Linked DNA regions of Homo sapiens: region 1 is linked to region 2. Evidence: promoter capture Hi-C in 16 types of primary human blood cells and fetal thymus (Javierre and others, 2016). All regions are on one chromosome and are shown on one strand. Each heading gives the region's core, a stretch centred on a gene start or on the middle of the fragment in contact. The rest is flanking DNA. Distances are from core to core; before and after follow the strand shown. Region 1 overlaps ZNF609 (zinc finger protein 609). Region 2 holds the start of ANKDD1A (ankyrin repeat and death domain containing 1A).

Region 1 (3,754 bases), core at 369-2,868, 230 kb after region 2:
GGCTGGCTCGTGCCTTGTCAGCATCTTCACCACCTGAGACCTTGCTGCCATATGGGGAAAAAGAGTAGCTGGAAGGCAGGTAGGAACCTGTGGAAGGAGAAATCAAACAGTCAAAGAGATGGGAGAGGTAGAGGAAACTCTGCTTTAGTGAGCTTGATTGGGTGGGCATCAGCTTTCCTAGGCACAGGCTGAGGTATTTTCTAACATAGTGTCTTTGGCTGAGACTGTTGGCTTGACCTTTCTTTACTGAGCTCTACAGGAAAAATTAGCTAAGGGATATTAGGAACATGGCCCTGTTTCCTGCTTCCAACTTCCATAGATCTGATACTGTTCTTTGAACTGGTCTCAGATTCATCTTGGAGAAGTGATATGATAAAGTGGAAAGATCACACTTATCTGGAGTCAGAGCCTTGGGCTCAAAACCTTACTCTGAGACTTACTAGCTTGGTAACCTTGAGCAAATAAATAACTGTTTTGAGCTTCAGTTTCTTCATCATCAAAAATGAAGATATCAATACTTATTACTTAAGGTGATAGGGAGGATTAAAAAAGATAATGTCTATAAATCTCAGAGGACAGCGCCTGGCTCAGGGCGAGCACTCAACAAATGCAACTATGATTTTTATATTGATGGGTGTGAGTGACAGGGATAAAGGAACACCTCAAGGGTAAGAAATTTCCTATTTCTGTTTGAAAAGCTTATTTCTATTTAGAGTGTGCTTTATAATAATGTCACCAGAATGTTGAGACTATTTAGGCTGCTGTAGGAAGCTGGAGGCTCTAAGGAGTGAGGCTAAAGCAGTGCCCTTCCACCCCAGAAGCACCCCACATGGTTCTTTGGGCAACAAAACGAGTAGAGTTAAATAAGAGCATTTTCTTCTAACAAGTTAAAAAACATTTAAGGCCGGAGCGGTGGCTCATGCCTGTATCTCAGCACTTTGGGAGGCCAAGGCAGCCGGATCACCTGAGGTCGGGAGTTCAAGACCAGCCTGACCAACACGGAAGAACACCGTCTCTACTAAAAATACAAAATTAGCCAGGAGTGGTGGCACATGCCTGTAATCCTAGCTACTTGGGAAGCTGAGGCAGGAGAATCGTTTGAACCCAGGAGGTGGAGGCTGTGGTGAGCCGAGATCACGCCACTGCACTCTAGCCTGTGCAACAAGAGTGAAATTCCGTCTCAAAAAACAAACAAACAAAAAACATTTAAACACTATAAAGAGCTTGTCTTTTCCAAGCTGAATCTAGCAGGACCTCCCCCCAGTCTGACTTCAGATGGCTCTTCTTACTTGACAGGTGAACATGATCTGGCAACTGAATCCATGCATTGTTATGGTTTGCATTTTATTTGTTCTTTGTGTCTCTCCACTATGATTAAGCTGTAAGCTCCGGGAGTGGAAGGAACTCAATGGCTCTACTTCTTTTGTACCTCCCACAGTGCCTAGCACACTGCAAAACGTGGAGTATATGGTTTACAAATTCCAGCTGAGGGGAGACAGCAGTGACAGAGAAGGAGTTTTACCTTTAGTTAGCAATGAAAACTGACTACAGAGACAATCCTTGAGCTGGAGCAAGGGAGAGAGAGGTAGTCACACAGACTATCATTATGGGTCATTCAAGGAACTATGGGTTATGGTGGCCACCTCACAGAATGACTCAGTGAAAAAAGGTCCGTCATCTAAGCGAGCCTCAATATGCCTTGGGGCTGAGCAAGAAAACTCTGGATGTGAAATCTGTGCTTCATTCCCCCTTCCAGTGAATGGAATAGTGCTGGCACTTGGTGCTGTACCTGGGTAGTTCTGCATCATCACAGCAGGCATGCTCCGGTAGCTGGGGTGGTTGGGGTCGTAGGACTGACTGTAGGAATAGCCGTGCATGTAGGGGATGTAGGACTGGTGCTGGGTAAGTGGGGAGGACACAGGCACATGGACACTTGGCCGGGGCTCCTTGCTCCCAAGGCGAGACTCCTCTGACGTGGGCAGCTTGCAGTCACTACTTGTGCTTTCCTTCCCATCTTCCTTGGGGACAGAGTCCTTACTCCGACTCCTTTCCTCCTTCAATTTGCGGTCCCGCTCCTCCTTCCACCGCTCATCCTCTGACTTGATGTCTGAGTACTTGGCAGGATAAACATATGTCCACATCCGGGGCTCTGCCTCCTACAACAATCACAGAACAACGACTGGGTGTTGTACAGATAAGACAGATATACTTCAAGCCCAAGGTCCCAGTAGAACCACCAGAGCAGATAATTAGTACTAGACACCTGGGGCAGAGTAGGATTTTGGCCTCTACTGATCTTGTTTATAATCCAACTCTGCTCCCTTTTGGTTAAAAAGCCCCCGCCCCCACCTCTGCACCCACCCACAGGGAACAAGATGGGGCAGGGGGAGAAAAGGAAAATCCATCCATGCATCAGTGGATGTTTTCTAGGTAAGAACAAGCATTCTGGGAAAACGACTGAAATAGGAGAGGCTGCCCCTTCCAATATGTTTAGATTGTTTCACTTTTTCAGAGCACGCTCAGGGACTGGAAAGCTTATAAGTGACACTCAGATCAGAGGAGGGAGGGAAGCATAACTATTATACCAAGAGGGAAGGGAAGACATTCTAAGTCTCATGAGCAGAGCAAGATATGAGATTCCAAGTTCCTAGTTCTAACTCAACCTATAAAATCCTTGTTAAAGAAACTCAGTAACTGAGTATACTTTGGACCTACTCTAAAAAATAGAGAGACCATCAATAACTCATTTCATAGGAACCAAACAGTGGAGGAAACACGGACAAGGAATCGAGATACCTGGGTTCTAATCCTGGCTCTGCTAGTGAGGTCTCAAGTAACCCCAGACAAATTAAGCTAACTTGTCTGGGCCTTTCCTGTCAAATGGAAAAAACACCTGCTATGGATATAAAAGTGCTTTTTAAAAAACATTAATATGAATCCCTGTGCTTTGGGAGGCTGAGGCGCGAGGATTGCTTGAGGCCAGGAGTTCAAGACCAGCCTGGGCAACATAGTGAGACCCCTCTCTACAAAAAATTAAAACATCATCTGGGTGTGGTGGCATGCATCTGTAGTCCTGGTTAATTGGGAGGCTGAGGCAGGAGGACTGCTTGAGCCTAGGAGTTGGAAATTGCAGTGAGCTATGACTGCATCATTGCATTCCAGCCTGGGCAACACAGAGGGACTCTGGTCTCTATAAAAACATAAAAATAAAAAAAATTACGACTGGGCGCAGTGGCTCACGCCTTAATCCAGGTACTTTGGGAGGCCGAGGTGGGTGGATCACAAGGTCAGGAGATCAAGACCATCCTGGCTAACATGGTGAAACCCCGTCTCTACTAAAAATACAAAAAATTAGCCAGGTGTGGTGGCGTGCACCTGTAATCCCAGCTACTCGGGAGGCTGAGGCAGGAGAATCGTGTGAACCTGGGAGGCAGAGGTTGCAGTGAGCTGAGATTGCGCCAGTGCATTCCAGCCTGGGTGACAGTGCCAGACTCCATCTCAAAATAAATAAATAAATAAATAAAATAAAATAAAAATTGGCTGGGTGCAGTGGCTCATGCCTGTAATCCCAGCACTCTGGGAGGCTGAGGCAGGTGGATTACTTGAGGTCAGGAGTTCCAGACCAGCCTGACCAAGATGGTGAAGCCCCATCTCTACTAAAAATACAAAAAAAATTAGCTGGGCATGGTGGCGTGTGCCTGTAATCTCAGCTACTCGGGAGGCTGAGGCAGGAGAATTGCTTGAACCTGGGAGG
Region 2 (3,701 bases), core at 699-3,198:
GCAAGTGACCCCATAGCCTGCATGTTTGGTCCAGTATGAATGTCTGAACCCAGCCCCTTTGTGTATCCAGGGACAGGTGACGAGTGTCTTGGTAGGGAAGGCTAAGATGCACTGAGGTGAGAGACAGGCCTGCCATGCAGTTTGTTTTTCTAGATAAATTCCACACAGTCTTCTCCAGATGAGAAAGAGGATCTTGAGCTTTCTGGGGCCTCATGGATACAACCTGTGGATCTCAGAGTTGCTACCCTGGGGGGCAATCACACAGTCCTGGGTTCAACTCTGGCTTAACCACTTCCTAGCTGTGTTAGGCAGTTTCCTCATCTGCAAAACAGGAGTGCGAGCTTCCCTACAAGGTTAATATCATGATTAGAAATGAGATATGAAAACCCCCTGGCACAGTGTCTGGCACATAATGACCACACCGCCACCACCACCACCATCATCATCACTATTATTCCTCCAAGGCAAAGGGTCAAATTCTGGTAGCCAAAGAGAGCTGCCACTTCAGATGTGAGCTTACAGAGGCCTGGGTTCTAGTACCTTCCCTGCCACTTTCCAGCAGCAGGATCCTGGGCTAGTCACATCCCCCTTGTAGGTCTGTTTCTTCCATTGTAAAACTGGGGGAGGGTGAAGAAAGAGATCTGTATAGGTCCCTTCCTGTCTGGCACCCTCTATCTTATGTGCAGCTTAGGGGGATTGGCCTGGTTTGTATTGGCAAACAGCCAGGAGTTCCAATGGGAAGCCAGCAGACACTGCATAGGGTCAGGCCAGAGAAGGTTAAGTTAGAATGAAATCAAGTCCAGTCTCATCTCTTCCATCCACCTCCCATCCGGCACCCTCTTTCTGGCCACATCCAATACCCACTGAGCTACCTGAGCCTTTGCCCATGCTGGGTCTTTGTCCAGAATTCTCTGCCACACACCCCAATGCTCCATTGGTACACATTCTTCGCAGGCCCACTCAAGTGATCCTCCGCCCCAGGCAGAACCATGTACCTAATCTTGATTGAGCATTCCCACCCCCAACACATCCCTCAGCTGAGTAGATGCAGTGTGCCAGCATTTTGGACACTATAGGTCTCAAAGGAATCCAGTGAGCTGCACTATGCGCTTTTGAGGGAAAGCCCCGGGATTCAGCTGTCAGGATTCAGCCAGGGCTGCAGGATCAAGGACTCACAGTGCAGACACCGACACAATCTTTCTCTCCCCTCTCCCAGACGGTGCAGCCAAAGCTGCCCCAGGCCAGCTGATGCCCACACAGACGCTGCTGCCCGGCCTAGAGGCCCTGGCACTGGGCGCACTCCTTGAGGGAGGTTCGGAGGTGCCCTCATTCCACCTGTGGCCAGTCAGGCTCCTCTCCTCTGAGTGCGTGCCCCATCTGATGCGGTCTCCACTCGCTATCCAGCCCCAGCATTCCGGGTGAGCTGGGCCCTTCAGCACTTCTACCACTCAATGGCTGTGTGACCTTGAACAACTCATTTGAACACCCTGTGCCTCAGTTTCTCATCTGCGAAATGAAGATAACATAATGTCCTACCCATATGGCCGCAGCGAAGATCAAATGACGTGCCTCTCCTGGGTCAAGGCCTGGCACACAAAGTACAGCACGCAGTCAAGGATCGCTATTACCTTTATTATTTGTAGCTAACCTCTCAGCCGCTGCTCCCCGCTCACCTGGCGGGTGTGGTCCCCGAGTCCCAGACGCACTGGCAAGGTCCCCTCGGCCCAGTGCGCGGACCGGTAACCATTCCGCTCGGAGCCACACAGACGCCCCACACGGAGGTGGCCGTTCGGAGGGCGCCAACCTCACCCCTGGCACTCCCCAAACGGATGCGGGGGTCCTCTCGGCCTCGGCCCGCCCCCCTCCCTCCTCCAGGCAGACTCACGGCCGTCGGTCTCCCACGCCAGCTCCTCCTGCATCCTGCCGCTCCGCAGCCCCTGCGCGCGCTGGTGCCCGGGCGCGAGGCGCGCGTCCGCCGGGGCGGGGCCCGGGGAGCCGAGAGGACGGGGCGGTCGCTCCTCCAGACTCCACGCCCCGCCTGCTAGGAGCGCAGCTGCCCCGGCCACCCCAGTCCCGGACCAGGACGCAGGTCCCTCCTCCTGCTCTCTTAACCTGCCCACCCCTCCGCGCCCGAGGCCGGCGGGTCGGGGCCACGCCGAGTTCCGCAGGTGTCCCTGACCCAGTCTCCTCCCCGGGAGTTCGCCCAGCCTCCCCGGCCCTGGAGATAGATGCGCACAAGGCATCTGGCAGGCTCATCCTCCTCGCGCCTCTCGGGACTCGGGGAGGAGGGCTGAGCCTTGGGCCCGCCGCCTCAGGCGCAGAAAGTCAAACCCCAAAGATGTGAGCTGGCGTTTAAGGGACCACAACCTCAGCAGGTCTGCAAGCATATGAAGAGATGGTCGGATTTATCAGTGTTCAGAAAGATTTATCAGGCCCATAAAGGGACATGTAGGAGGATGTTGGTTGCTGTGTTGCTGTGGTTGCTGGGAGTTGGAGACAATCTAAGCGCCCTTTCTTGTAAGAGCAGATGGATAAACTGTGCAGCACTCAAAGCAAGGGACCCGCTGTATTCGTGGCAATATGGATTTAAACACCTAGTGCTAGGCAGAAAAAGTAAATAACCAAACCAAATAAGACCTAGGAAACAATATCAATAAAAATATTACAAATGCATTTACATCAAACAACACAGACTTGCAAAGACACATAGAAACAAAAAGATACACATTAAATACACCAGAATGGGTTGCACTTCAGACCCTTGGGGGATGTCCATGTCCTTTTTGCCTTAAAGGCATTTACAGCTTCTTTGAATTTAGGGATAATGGGGTCTCAGGCATCTCTATCCCAAGGCAAGAAGCCAGCAAAGCCATGATAGGTGTAGTTACTACTACTTTGGGGATCAAAGGAGGAAGAGCATCTTTCAGTCATTAGTCCTTAGAATATAGTTCAAGAAGGCTTCCTGAAGAAGGAGGTATTTGGAATGGCCTTTGAAAAATAACATAATGATAACAGCTAACAATTAATGAGCCCTGAGCCAACCCCTCAAAATGGTCTCAAAATAACAATTCCAACATAATAATCAAAGATATGATTTTTTTTTTTCTGAGACAGAGTCTCACTCTTTCGCCCAGGCTGGAGTACAGTGGTATGATCTCGGCTCACTGCAACCTCTGCCTCCTGGGTTCAAGCAGTTCTCCTGCCTCAGCCTCCCATGTAGCTAGGATTACAGGCACTCGCCCCCACACCTGGATAATTTTGTATTTTTAGTAGAGATGGGGTTTCACTATGTTGGTCAGGCTGGTGTTGAACTCCTGACCTCAGGTGATCCACCTACCTTGGCCTCCCAAAGTGTTGGGATTACAGGTGTGAGCCACTGCGCCGCACCCCCCCCTTTTTGTTTTTGTTTTTTTTTTAAGACAGAGTCTCACTGTGTTGCCCAAGCTGGAGTGCAGTAGCGTAATCTCAGCTCACTGCAACCTCTGCCTCCCAGGTTCAAGCGATTCTCATGCCTAAACCTCCCAAGTAGCTGGGACTACAGGTGTGTGCCACCACACGCGGCTGATTTTTGTATTTTTAGTAGAGACGGGGGTTTCACCATGTTGGCCAGGCTGGCCTCGAACTCCTGACCTCAGGTGATCTACCCACCTAGGTCTCCCAAAGTGCTTGGCCACCACGCCTAGCCAAAGATATTATTCCTG

The links. The method cuts DNA at HindIII sites, captures the fragments that hold promoters and counts their contacts. A CHiCAGO score of 5 or more calls a contact.
Region 1: a fragment that was not itself captured here is called in contact with the fragment with the promoter of ANKDD1A in region 2 in 1 of 17 cell types (naive CD4 T cells); the score reaches 5.5 in naive CD4 T cells.

What each region holds. Positions count from the first base shown.
Region 1 is chr15:64,676,518-64,680,271 of GRCh38, reverse strand. It overlaps ZNF609 (zinc finger protein 609), which reads right to left. Exons shown (of 10, transcript NM_015042.2): 6 at 1,790-2,156; 7 at 1-87. Among named protein-coding and RNA genes, the nearest start is that of OAZ2, 25 kb to the left of the region's middle. The HindIII fragment of the contact is 1,836 bases long and covers 701-2,536 here.
Region 2 is chr15:64,910,149-64,913,849 of GRCh38, reverse strand. ANKDD1A (ankyrin repeat and death domain containing 1A) reads right to left here and starts at 1,948. Exons shown (of 15, transcript NM_182703.6): 1 at 1,886-1,948. The coding sequence starts at 1,919. RefSeq lists an enhancer at 1,193-1,736 and silencers at 1,923-2,102, 2,303-2,352, 2,426-2,720. The HindIII fragment of the contact is 10,512 bases long and covers 1-3,701 here.